3 separate regions of the Homo sapiens genome follow, and regions 1 and 3 are each linked to region 2. Evidence: promoter capture Hi-C in 16 types of primary human blood cells and fetal thymus (Javierre and others, 2016). All regions are on one chromosome and are shown on one strand. The core of a region is centred on a gene start or on the middle of the fragment in contact, and the rest is flanking DNA. Distances in the headings are between cores, read along the strand shown. Region 1 overlaps GRB10 (growth factor receptor bound protein 10). Region 2 holds the start of IKZF1 (IKAROS family zinc finger 1). Region 3 overlaps GRB10 (growth factor receptor bound protein 10).

Evidence for each region. Contacts are between HindIII fragments. The CHiCAGO score rates a contact against its expected background, and 5 or more counts as called.
Region 1: a fragment that was not itself captured here is called in contact with the fragment with the promoter of IKZF1 in region 2 in 7 of 17 cell types (fetal thymus, M2 macrophages, total B cells and 4 more); the score reaches 8.4 in fetal thymus.
Region 3: a fragment that was not itself captured here is called in contact with the fragment with the promoter of IKZF1 in region 2 in 5 of 17 cell types (naive CD8 T cells, fetal thymus, total CD4 T cells and 2 more); the score reaches 7.8 in naive CD8 T cells.

What each region holds. Positions count from the first base shown.
Region 1 is chr7:50,679,575-50,683,930 of GRCh38, reverse strand. The region is part of intron 5 of GRB10 (growth factor receptor bound protein 10); the gene reads left to right. Among named protein-coding and RNA genes, the nearest start is that of GRB10, 100 kb to the left of the region's middle. The HindIII fragment of the contact is 3,319 bases long and covers 1,020-4,338 here.
Region 2 is chr7:50,303,135-50,307,646 of GRCh38, reverse strand. IKZF1 (IKAROS family zinc finger 1) reads right to left here and starts at 2,931. Exons shown (of 8, transcript NM_006060.6): 1 at 2,725-2,931. RefSeq lists a silencer at 2,819-3,618 and an enhancer at 4,473-4,512. The HindIII fragment of the contact is 6,071 bases long and covers 1-4,512 here.
Region 3 is chr7:50,735,679-50,740,012 of GRCh38, reverse strand. The region is part of intron 3 of GRB10 (growth factor receptor bound protein 10); the gene reads left to right. Among named protein-coding and RNA genes, the nearest start is that of GRB10, 45 kb to the left of the region's middle. The HindIII fragment of the contact is 511 bases long and covers 995-1,505 here.

The DNA.
Region 1 (4,356 bases), core at 1,430-3,929, 380 kb before region 2:
AAATGACTAGCCTTGTCCTGGTCCTTTAACAAGCCAATCTGCTTGGCATCACCTGGAGGGTAACCTGGGAACAATTCAATTTAAAAACTGCGTTTGTTTTTTAATTATTATTTTTAATTGTGGTAAAATATACCTAACACAATTTACCACCCTTACCATTATTTTTTATTTTTTGTTTTTTATTTATTTTTTTTGAGATGGAGTCTCGCTCTGTCACCCAGGCTGGAATGCAGTGGCATGATCTCAGCTCACTGCAATGTCCACCTCCCGGGTTCAAGCGATTCTCCTGCCTCAGGCTCTTGAATAGCTGGGATTACAGGTGCACACCACCACACCTGGCTAATTTTTGTATTTTTAATAGAGACAGGGTTTCGCCATGTTGATCAGGCTGGTCTCGAACTCCTGACCTCAGGTGATCCACCCGCCACGGCCTCCCAAAGTGCTGGGATTACAGGCGTGAGCCACTGCTCCCAGCCCATCCTTACCATTTTTAAATGCACATTTCAATGGCATTAAGAACGTTCACATGGTTGCACAACCTTCACCACCATCCATCCATAGAACTCTATTCATCTGGCAAAAATGAAACTCTGTACCCATCAAATAAATAACACCCCATTTCCTTCCCTAGCCCCTGGCCACCACCATTCCACTATCTCTAGGAATTTGACTACTCCAGGGACCCCATGAGCAGAATCAGATAGTGTTTATCCTTTTGTGACTGGCTTATTATGTCCTCAAGGTTCTTCTGAGTTCTAGTGCGTTTCAGAGGCACCTTCCTTTTTTGTGGCTGAATAATATTCCATTGTGTGTATATGTGCCACATTTTCTTCATCTGTTCATCTGTTGAGGGGCACTTGTGCTGTTTCCGCCTTTGGGTTGTGAATAGTGCTGTTGTGAACAAGGGTGTACGATTATCTGTTGAAGTCCCTACTTTCAATTTTGGGGGGTATATACCTGCTTTTACTTTTTAAAAATAGAACAAAGAAAGAAAAACAAATTTGTATTTCTTCTAAGCTTTGAAGATATTTAATTATTGAATATGAATAAGCCCAAATTTCCCCATTGCAACATTTCAGTGTGAGCGTTGAGATTTAACAGATTTATGTTTCCCTCCCCTTTGAATTGGACCAGAAAATATATGCTGACAGTTACTAATTAATAAAAACCATTTTCTGTCATGAAATCTCATTCCTTAGGCCACCTTTCCTCTCTGATTCAAATATATTTTCCAAAGTGTAAATACTCATTTCTGATTTAAAACTTTTCAAACCACTGCTATAAAGTGACAAGCCAAAAAGTACAGAAACAAAGTAGTATATATATTGGTTTTTAACTTGTCAAATACTTAACTGGAAATACTAAAGGCCTGAAAGATAAAAAGCAAAAATGAGGGTCATCCCTTTGTTCGGGTGATGTTGAGCCGACATGATCATTGATTTTCAAATACGGTTACCAATCCTTTTCACACACTTACCCAAAAACACCAAATAGCAGATATCATGGCTCTGACCCTGCCTGAGGGCACGTTAATGACTTTTCCCACCTAAATCCCAGAGCCTGGGGAAAACGTCAGCAGAGGTGTAGGCCAAAATGAGCAGAGCCTAGCAATCTACCCAAACAGATGCCAAGGCAGGCTGCCACCTGCCAAACTCTCTTCCTCACTGGAGTGACTCACCACACTCTGGACAAAGGGGTCAGGGGCTCCTAAAATTGCTGTGTTTAGCCAACTGCTCCAGGCGTTCTGAGGTGAGCTACGATCCCTTCTCAAGAGTCTCTGGATTCCCTTATGCCCTTCAGGTCCCTTCCCAATATCTTGGTTCCCAAGGTGGCCAGTGCTGGGGGGCAACAGAAACATTGGGTTGAGTGGGTAGCAGGGCTGCCTCCAGCCAAGGAAAGCAAAGCCCCCTACCATCTCCTGCTCTGTTTCTTCTAAGGATCACCTGACACACTCAGGATTCATCAACCCGGGGCTCAGAGACTCCTCTGCTCAGCACTGACACACCCAGAGTCAGAAATTCTATTAGGTTGGCAGCCCTGGCTGGTGAAATTAAACTCCTACCAGGCGCAGAAGCAGGAAGGCTAGGGCAAAATGACTTAAAAGGGGAAGTTACACCTCACATGGAAGGCAAGGGTGCAGCCCCCGTGAAACGTGAAAAATGCAAATGGAAACTTGAAGAAAGCATGTCAAATGTTTACTTTTGCATTTTGAAGGAGCCCCATAAACTCAAATACACTCAGATGCCCAGGCAGTCTTTTCAGTGCTTCATGGCAGGCTCCGTGTGCACACAGAGGAAAGAGGCTCATAAACCAGATTATTCTGGCAACAGAATCATTTCCTGGTTGTTGCGTTGTAAGAATCCTCTCTCCTTCCACAAGGGAGATATGATTTTAGCAGCTCATTTGTAAAATACAGGTTTTTCTCTATCCACTGTTAACAGTCACATTTTCAAGGAAACAAAGAAGAAAGGGTCTGGAGAGCCTTAAGGTCGGGCGGCATCCTGGGAGCCATAAACACCATCGCCCCTCGAGTTGGGACTAAGAGGAGGCCGGAAGACTGGAGCAGCTTGCCTAAAGTCCAAAAGGGCCAGGGATGCAGCTCAGGGCTGTCTGCATATCCGATGGTAGTCTTTGGGGTAGAGCCGGAGGCTTCTCCGTGGAGGGGCTCCCCTTCTTGTCTCCCAGCCTTCTGCACCCTGCCAGGCAGCTCATGAGCTGTGCCTGCTCTGTGCCTCATCTTCGTGGTTGTAGACTGAGATTTGGCTCTCAGTCGCTTCTTAGTTGCTTTGAATCTAAATAGCAGCCATAGATACTTAAACACTCAAAGGGCGGGGTAGTGCTTTATTTAGAAAGAATGTGTATATTTAAATGTAGCTTTAAGGAGAGCAGAGGACAGATTTTATGAAAGCAGAGAATCAGTAGTCTCCATATTTTGTGTTATCTGTAGAATTGTTGAGTAGGGCCCTGGATCTGTAAGTCATATTGGGATCTTCTTGGAGGAGGGTCTGGATGGAGTTTCAAGGTAGCAGAAGACAATGCCCCTGCCCTCAGGGAATTGGATATAGGATTAAATATGCATGCAGCCTTCCTGGATACACTAGCCTGCATTTGTCTTAGGAGAAGAAAAAAAACATTCTAAGAAAAATAATTAAGAAACCACCTGTAAATAGTAATCAGGAACAAGTGAGTGTAGCCTCAGCAGACTGAGAGGATCCTTGTGATTTTAGCTTTGTCTAACTATGTTATGCCCAGGATATATGTTTATTTTTGTCCCATTTTATGTCATCACAAACTTTGAATATGCTTTGGATGGCGATTCTGCCCATGTGGCCTGTGGGTCCTGGGAGTCGGAGTGGAGACTTCTGAGTCTCCATAGGCACCAGCACTGATTGGAGCCCTGCCACTGCCCATTAGCATAGGCCACGACTCTTTTGCAGATGTGTCTGTACATAATGAAAAACCAAAAAACGTATATTCTTACAAATTGTTAAATTCATCAGTTTGTTGATATGTGTTTTCTCAATTACTAGAGACTGAAAATGGTGGTTCCCCTTGTCTTTTGTGAGCTGGGTAGAGAGGAGAGGATGCCATTTTCAACAAAGGTTGGGAGAAGGAAGTTTCTCTTATAAACACTGAAAGCCAAGAGTTATGACTGTGTAGCTCTTTCTAGGTACAAGGATATTTATATGCATTTGCTGGACAGACTAATTCTAGGGATTTTATTTTCTGCCTCAAATCCTGCCTGTGTGTAGGAACCCGTGAAATAAAGCATTGATTCCATTTGTATTTTTATTTGGAGTTGTGGTTAGGTGGTTTGCTTTTGTGTTTGCTGAATATCTTTAAATACCATAAATATGATAGAGAAGAATACTCTAACCATATAATACCTGGTTTTCTTATTCTACTTACTTATGTCCAAACTCTATATATGGGAAATTAAGTGCATGTGACTAGAATACATGAGAATAGAAGATAAATTGTTGTTCAGAAAGCTGTTTCAGTAGAAGGTTAAGTTATATTTGCACAAAGTTTTAATTGGTTAGAAGTTAACAGAAATTGCTTGCCAAGTGAACATGGTCTAGTGGAAAACACTTTTGCAGCCTGACCTTCACTTCTTTTCTAGATAGAAATGTGTAAGGACTTTGGCTTTTGCACATGTGTTAGAGACTTTTCATGTAAAGTGCCATTTATCTGTTTCTTAGGGACTGAATCTGCTTTGACTTAATGATATACCCCCACCCCAGCTGTTTATGACTTAACAGGGTATATCTTCCATATGAAAATGGGGGAAGGGGGTAGTGGAGAAAGCTCTGAAGGCATCGCACACTGATGGAAGCTTGTGTAGGTCTGTGAAGA
Region 2 (4,512 bases), core at 1,682-4,181:
ACTTGTTGCTTTTACATCTTGTGTTTTCTCCCATAAAATGGAATGATTATTCAGCACAAATATGAAATGGAATAGAGCTGAAGTCTCTGTAGTTATGAACATAGAGACACCAGAGAGAGAACAATGTTCACAGCCAGGACAGGAGCTGCAGCAACTCTGCCGCTAGAAGCAGGCGTCACAGTGCCCCCAGAGTGCTTGTCAGTCTTAGAAACAGAGGCATCGGAAGACAAGCGTTTTCAGAGAACGCAAAAAGGTCGTGGTTTACCTTCTGTAAGCTGGAGTGGAGCCACTTACATCAATCTCCCTTAGAATATGACAAGAACCAACATTTATTTCATAGTGAAATTATTTCACAAGTCCAAAGATTAGAGGAGGAAAAAAAAAATGCCACAAAACAGTGATATCCTTGATGAATTCTTCGTTAACCACAGTTACATTACATTAATACGTACAATTATGCAACACTCAAAAAACGTTATTTATGCCTAAAATTCACCATTATATAACATAGGGAAATCCATCTTGTTTTAGTAAAAGTTTAAAAATAAAGGGGGCCTTTAATACTCATTTCAGGTCTGTTTGATGTTAAAACTCTTCCACACTGCCCCATGCCTCTCACTCCACGCTGTGTGCATGCTGTGTGTGTGCACGCTCTGTGTGCATATGTGCATATGCACATGGAATTTATTTCATGTATCTGTTAATAAATGCATAATCTTGAAGTGTGTGTATAAGTACATTAATATATAGAGAGTTCTTTCCTATTTCAAAATTTTTGACATTTATATTGAAAATATGCTATATTAACCACGCATGAAACACACACATCCAAATCAAGAACAAAAAATGTATCCAAACCAAAGAACCACTGTTCTCAAACTCCAAGTCTCTAGTCAAACAAGGAAGACAGTGGCCTGCAGTACAACAGGGCTTTAGACCTCTTGGCTAATACATTCACTGCGATCTTAGTTTTTCGACAAAGGAAATGGCTACAAACGGCCACAGCTGATCTTCTCTTTAGGAGCCTGTGTAAAACTCTTCGAAAGGGTCAAACCTAACACATCCAGACTTTTATCTGCAGCCCTTGTGGTCTCCTGGAGACCCTGAGGGTGGGTGATTATTGCTATGATGTTTCTGCATTAGGGGGGTGTGTAGTTTTCCAAGAGGTACCACTCTAATTAGAACACTGATGAATTAAACAAGTACTGGAGAGTTTCTAAACTCCTTCCTTCAACTCTCACCGTGAAACAAAAGGGGAAGAAAACATGACCATTTAGTTCAATAAAATGTTCTGGTCACCAGCTCTGATTGACTGTGAGACTTAAGAGTCACGTTTTTTTTCATGTAAAAAATGTATGAAATATGTTCATGGTGAAATTGGAAATCAGATACATTCCATCAAGCAAGAATAGTGTAGTATTTTTAATGTGACATCATTATTTGTATGTGTACACATTATTTCTTTAACTTGTTCTGCATTTTACAAGATGCCAGCGTAAGAAGGTGAATCTTCTTGTCATGAATATTTGCCTCGTGTACATTTTAAGCCATAGCCCAAATGATCTGATTTGTCACGGAAATAATTCTGACACATTCTAATATAAATAATACTGAAATTGTTACTTTTTAAAATTCCATATAAAAGATGAGTACAATAAAACTCATTGAACAAACATCTTCAAACAAAGAAATAAACTCAAGAGGACCCAGGACATTTCTATGTGGGTCCCCCCCACCCCTCGACTCATAACCAAATTGAACCTGGCCTTAAAAGCATTTGAATGTCTATGAAAGTTTAAATATCATACGCAGTATTTTCAAATTCCATAAATTTTCCTCTTTTAACAGAAGTTGATGGGACTAGTAAGGAGACATTTCCTCAACACCATTTTGTCTGGAATTTTAAAACAAGGTATCTCAAAGCTGAAATATACTGCCTGCGGCGCAGTGGGAAATTGTGAGTGGGTAACCTAAGCAAAGCGCACCGCATTGAAATTCAGTCTGGGTGGGCTGCAGTCCCTAGAGAGAGGGAAGCTGCATTTGAAAGCTGTGCCTGGTCAGACCCTATGGAATCGCTACGGTTTTCGGTCATTAGATGCCTCCAAATTAGAAGGAAAAACAAGCCCTCACGAGGTTCCTTAGGCATCAGCAGCGATGCTTGACAAATATTTAAAATACATTTCAAATATAACCGCAAGTAACCTGATGCCTTAATATTACTAAGGGTTTTCCTGAGAAGGTTTGGTGACTTGAGCGTCAAACCTGCGGTCAGCAAAAGGACTAACTTTTCAAAGCCGGGATAATTCCTCTCTTGCAGAAATTAAGTTCAGACTCGATCTCATCATATTTATAGTATAAAAAGAAAGCTCCCGGCTCAAATATAAGGAAAACTCTTTACACACGACTTTATAAAGGCTGACTTCCGTGGGTATATGTAGGTCTACATAAATTTAAATATGGTTGGGAGCTAGAACTCCTCTCCTGGTGACAGCGGGGCTGCTCAGAAGTGTCCCATGTCGGCCTGGTCCTGCACCTGCTGGCACAGTGCAGAGCAACAGACGCTTGACAGAAGTGAACTCTCTCACTGTCCTCAGAAAAGAGAGGCGGACCTGAGCGACACCAGGGTCTACCAACCTTACCGCTTTTCTTTACTGTGTTTTTTTTTTTTTAAATTCACCAGTTACCCCAAGTTTTCCTATTGAAATTCAATTTGAAAACACTCACGTGGATTTGTGCGTCGCGCTTTGGGGCCAAGACTGATCCTCGGGTGCGAAGAGCAACCTCGGAGCCGGGGCTCCCTCTGCCCTGCCAGGCTTGCCCGCCTCGCCGCGGCCGAGCGTCCCGCCCAGGCTGGGATGCGCCGCGCGGGGACCCAGGGGGCTTGCCGCAGTCACCGCCCCGGGCGCGGGCCGCGCAGTCACTTGTTAGAGTGTCCTGCTAACTTGGCCGCGGAGCTCTTCCCAGCTTTCTTTCACAATGACTTCCTGAAGTTGCTCACTCGCATTGTTCCCCATTTCTCCGCCACACTCCCCGCCCCCAGCCGGCTCAGACCAGGCTTTCGCGCTCCCGGCCGACCGGCTGCCCCGCGCGCACAGCGCCGCCCGCGGGCCCCGTACCTGGCCCCCTCCGCGCCGGCCGCCCCCGCCGCGCCCTTGCGTTGCCACCAGCTGCCGCCCAGAGCGGCGGGTGGCCAGAGCGCGCGCCCTGCCACCCCGCAAACTTTGGGGTGACGCACGCTGGCGGTCCCTGCTCGACCTGCCCCGCAGCCGGCTCGGCCCCGCGCGCACCTCTCGGCCGCCTCCCGGATCGCTGCTCCGGTACAGGGAGCGGGGCGCGCAGAAGGGCGCAGAGCGGGACACGGAGAGGGTGCGTCGTCCCGTCCCCGCCCCGTCGCCGAGTCCCCCGGCTCGCGCGGCGCGCGTCTCAGCCGCAACTCCGGGCCAGAGGGGCCGCGCACGAAAACTTTGCAATCGCGCCGGGCTCCGGCTCAGCCCCCAAAGGCCGCCGGGGCGGCGGCGGGTGCGGGCCGTACCTGCTGGCGCCGCCGCCGGCTGCAGCCCGCTCGCCCGCGCCGGGCCCGCTCGGCGCGCCGCCGCCACCCCCGCGCGCACCGCGCCCGGGCCCTCCCCTCGCCGCCGCGCTTCCTCATTCCAGCGCAGCATCGCGCCGCGGCCCCGCACGGGATGCGGCGGCCGGCGCTGTGTCCGCGGGCCGGGCAGCCCGGCTCGGCCGCGGCGCTGCGGGACCCGCGCGTAACCCGTGGGGGCGCGGCGCGGGCGACACGTGCGGGCCGCCAGGAGGGGGAGGGGGACGCGCGCCGCCGGGCCCGCCACCCTGCACCCGGGGCCGCTGGTCGGTCGGGGCACCCTCACGCTCGCCCCGCTGGCGAGACTGGAGGGACTCGGGACATCGTAAAGCACTTTCCCCAGTGTCTGGGAGCGCCCGCTGTACGCTCAGCTTCACGTCCCTGGAACTGGGGCCCCTTGGCTCCCGGGTTCAGGCTCCGGCCCCAGGATGCGAGTGCCCACCCGAGGGGGTGGGAAAAGTTGATCCTCCGCAAGGGAGGGGAAGGTGCAATTCATTTTCCCAGACAACCAATGGAATACCTCTCGTCTCTCTTCCCTCCCACCTGCTCACGGCAGAAGTTAGGATGGCGCCTTCCATGTTGGCCTGGGTGCACACACAAGTGCGTGCGGAAGGGTGGCTGCAGGCGGAGGTGACAGCGAAGCAATCCCGCAGCCCGCTCGACGGCTCTTTGCGTCTCAGACCTCTCCCTGGCGTGTAAGACACCGTGTGTCTCCGTAAAACGGGAATGCCACATCTGACAGCGCACCCCTTCGCCCTACGGGGAGCCCCTCACTCTAATTAGCCGGGCTCCACCCGAGCAGGAGCCAGCAATGTGTTCAGCTTGAGCAGGAGAGAAAAAGTCATGAATTCCACAAATGCAGCCTGGGCTCCCGCCAGGCGCTAGGGGAGGGGACCCAGAGGAGTGAGATGCGCCTCCTGCCCTTC
Region 3 (4,334 bases), core at 1-2,500, 430 kb before region 2:
CTCACACAGTTTCCGGGCTGGCTAGGTTCCTTTAAGCAGATGAGCTGTGTTTTCAAAGAGCGGGAGTCACAGGAAGAGGTGGCATAAGAGCTGTGGTGTTTGCTGGGAATGTTTCTGGCTCTCCTGAGTCAGGGAGGAGAGAAATGAGGACTGAGGGGTGAAGAGGGAATAGAAAGAGAAAGGCCAGTGGGCCAGCCTCTCTGTGCCCTGGACAGCACTTGGATGTGAAGGGGCAGGCATGGGAGGGGACGTGAGGGAGCGGGCCCTCCAACTGAAGTTGGTGACCCCGATGTTGACCACAAGCCCAAACACAGCCCTGCCCTATTTTCAAACTGTAGGTTTCAACCTGTTACCGGGTCTTGAAATCAAGTTAGTAGGTCATGAAAAGCGTTTTTAATAAATACAGTAGAACAGAAAAGGAAATATGAGAGTGGATTGCATGGGTTCTTAGCATGCACTTAGTACGTTGCCATGTGTGATGAGCCACATGCCATGCGGGATAGACAAGGTGAGCATGGATTGGTCACGGATGTGTCATTTGGTCATCTGCTTACTGGCATTGGGTTAGAAGATGTCTATTTGACTATCTTTTCAGAAGGGAGGGTAAACGCTCTACAGTTTAAATCCACCATAAACATAATTTGCAATTAGCTGCGAGGTGAGGGCCTAAGAGTATCATCTACAGTCTGCTAGACTCTAGAGTTTCAGTTAGGAACACCCAATGTACTTTTCAGAAAAAGTGTTATTGGGTGCAACATTTTTGAAGTTTATGACAGTTGTATCATTTTAATTTAACTAGTACAAGTTGCCCTAACATGGAAAAACAAAAAACAACCCATATAATCGGAAACACAAAGACGTTCAACTTCAGCTGCTGGATCCAGAAGTGTAAATATTGGCATTGTTAAGAAAAATGTTGACTTTAGAATGAGTAAACTTTTGACTCTGCTTGAACGATTTTTCTGAACTATAGTCCAATAAAGAAGTTTAAGCTTTATCATGAAGATTATTTAAATTTTCATTAATTAAAATAAACAAATTTTAATATATTATTTATAATGATAATCTTGCAAAGGAGGGTTTAACCTTCGACATTAAAAGAACAATGTGAAACCACCACAGCAAGCCAAACTTGTTAGTAGGCCCTTTTAATCAAGGGAAGCAAAAAGACAACAGATATTGATACAATTTCTTAATCATCTGACAACGGTTAATGAGAAAGTCTTTAGTTATTATAGACAGAAAGCTGCTATCTATCTACTGGCTTATAAAACTATTCCTCATTATCTGTGAATATGAATCACATATTTTGATAAATCAGCTGATGATTTAGAATCTGAACTCTTTAAAGTAGCACAGTAGATGATCCAGTTGTATAACTGTAGGATGTTCAGAAGTGAGCTTTTTATCTGGGCATGGTGGTGAACTCCTCTAGTCCCATAAGTCCCAGCTGCCTGGGAGGCTAAGGATTGCTTGATCCCATGAATTTGAGGCTGCAGCAAGCTTTGATCACACCACTGCTCTCCAGCCTGAGTGACAGAGGGAGACCGTGTCCCTTAACATTCCATGTATGTATATACCACATTTTGTTTGTCTGTTGATGAATTATCCATTAATTCATCAGTGGACACTTAGGTTGCTTCCACCTTTTGGCTATTGTGAATAGTGCTGCTATGAACATGGGTATAGAAGTACCTGAGCCTCTGCTTTTGATTAGTTTGTATTATATGCTTAGAAGTGGAGTTGCTATTATATGCTTAGAAGTGGGTCATATGTTAATTCTATGTTTAATATTTTTGAGGAATCACCATATTATTTTCAACCACAGCAACACCATTTTGCATGCCTACCAGCAATGCTCAGGGGTTCCAGTTTCTCCACATCCTCACCAATACTTGTGGTTTTATTTTTTATATCAGTCAGCCTAATGAGTGTCAGGTGGTATCTTGTTGCAGTTCTGATTTGCATTTCCCTAACGACTAGTGATGTTGAGGACCTTTTCATGTGCGTTTTGGCCATTCGTATATCTTCTTTGGAGAAAAGTCTATTCAAGCCCTTTGTGCCTTTTTAGATGAGGTTGCTTATGTCTTTTGTTGTTGAGTTGTAGGCATTCTTTATTGCATTCGTCTGTTTTTTTTGTTTCTTTGTTTGTTTGTTTGTTTTTGAGGTAGAGTTTTGCTCTTGTCGCCCAGGCTGGAGTGCAATGGCGTGATCTCAGCTCACTGCAACCTCTGCCTCTGGGTTCAAGCAATTCTCCTGCTTCAGCCTCCTGAGTAGCTGGGATTGCAGGTGCCTGCCACCATGCCCGGCTAATTTTTGTATATTTAGTAGAGATGGGGTTTCACCATGTTGGCCAGGCTGGTCTTGAACTCCTGACCTCAGGTGATCCACCTGCCTCGGCCTCCCGAAGTGTTGGGATTACAGGTGTGAGCCACCACGCCCGGCCTAGTCTGTTGTTATATTGCTATAAAGAACTACCTGAGACTAGGTAACTTATAAAGAAGAGATAAAGAAGAGAGGTTTAATTGACTCACAGTTCCGCAGGCTGTACAGGAAGCATGGCTGGGGAGGCCTCAGGGAACTTAGACTCATGGAGGAAGGTGAAGGGGAAGGAAGCACATCTTACGTGGCTGGAGCAGGAGAAAGAGTGAAGAGGGAGGTGCTACACACTTTTAAACAGCCAGATGCTATGAGACCTTTATCATGAGATAGCACTAGGGGGATGGTGTTACGCCGTTAGAAACCACCCCCATGATCCGGTCACCTCCCATCAGGCTCCATCTCCAACGCTGGGGATTACAGTTCAACATGAGATTTGGGTGGGGACACAGAGCCAAACCATATCATTTATATATTCTGGGTTTTAATCCCTTATCAGATAAATGCTTTGTAAGTATTTTTTCCCATTCTATGTGTTGTCTTTACAATCTTTTGATAGCATCCTTTGATGCACAAACATTTTGAATTTTGGTGAAACCCAGTTTATTTTTTCTTCGGCCTGCACCTTTGGTGTCATATCTGAGAAATCATTGTCATATTTAATGTCATGAAGATTTTTCCCTGTCTTTACTTCTAAGAGTTTTATAGTTTTAGCTCTTACGTTTAGGTCTTTCATACATTTTGAGTTGCTTTTTGCTTATGGTGTAAGTTTAGAGTCCAGCTTCATTTTGTTGCATGCTGATGTCCAGTTTTCCTAGGACCGTTTAAAAAAAATTGGTTATTTTTATTTTTTTGAAACAGTCTCACTGTTGCCCTGGCTGGAGTGTAGTGGCGTTAATCACAGCTCACTGCATCCTCAATTCCTGTGCTTAATTTGATCCTTCTGCCTCAGCCTCCCAATTAGCTGGGACTACAGTGCACGTGACCATGCCTGGCTAATTTTTTTAGAGGCGGTGTTTCACCATGTTGTTCAGGCTGTTCTCAAACTTCTGGGCTCAAGCAATCCACCTGTCTCTGCCTCCCAAAGTATGGGGATTACAGGCGTGAGCCACCATACTCAGCCCCCAGAACCATTCATTTATTGAAAAGCCTGTCTTTTCCTCAGCGAATGGTCTTGGCATCCTTACTGAAAATCAGTTGACCATATATGTGAGGATTTATTTCTGGGCTGTTTGTTTTATTTCATTGGTGTATGTTAGTCCTTATGTTAGTACCAGACTGTTTTGATTACTGTAGCCTGGTAGTAAGTTTTTTTGTTATTGTTCATTTTGTTTTCTTTTGTTTTTTTGAGATGAAGTCTGGCTGTGTTGCCCAGGCTGGAGTGCAGTGGCGCAATCTCGGCTCACTGCAACCTCCACCTCCCAGGTTCAAGCAATTCTCCTGCCTCAGGCTCCCAGGTAGCTGGGATTACAGGCACATACCACCACACCTGGCTAATTTTTGTAGTTTTAGTAGAGGTGAGGTTTCACCATGTTGGCCAGGCTGATCTCGAACTCTTGACCTCAAGTGATCCGCCCGCCTTGGTCTCCAAAGTGCTAGGTTTACAGGCGTGAGCCACCATGCCCAGCCGTTAGTAAGTTTTGAAATCGGGAAGTGTGAGTTCTCCGTGTTGTTCTTTTTCAAGATTGTTTTGGCTGTTCAGGTCCCTTGAGAAGCCATATGAATTTTAGGATGGCTTTTTGTTTTGTTCTGTTTTGTTTTTTTTCCTGTAGTTTACTCAAAAGGCAAACAAAAAATCTTTCATTTTATATATATCACAATATTATATAAACGTCTTTTTCAAAAGAGAAAACCAAATTTCATGTTTGTATTAGTGCATCTTTAATGCTAAAGCTACTTTTTAATAAAATTTTTTAAATCTGTCTAGTTTTAATTAGTTTTTATTAGTTTTAATG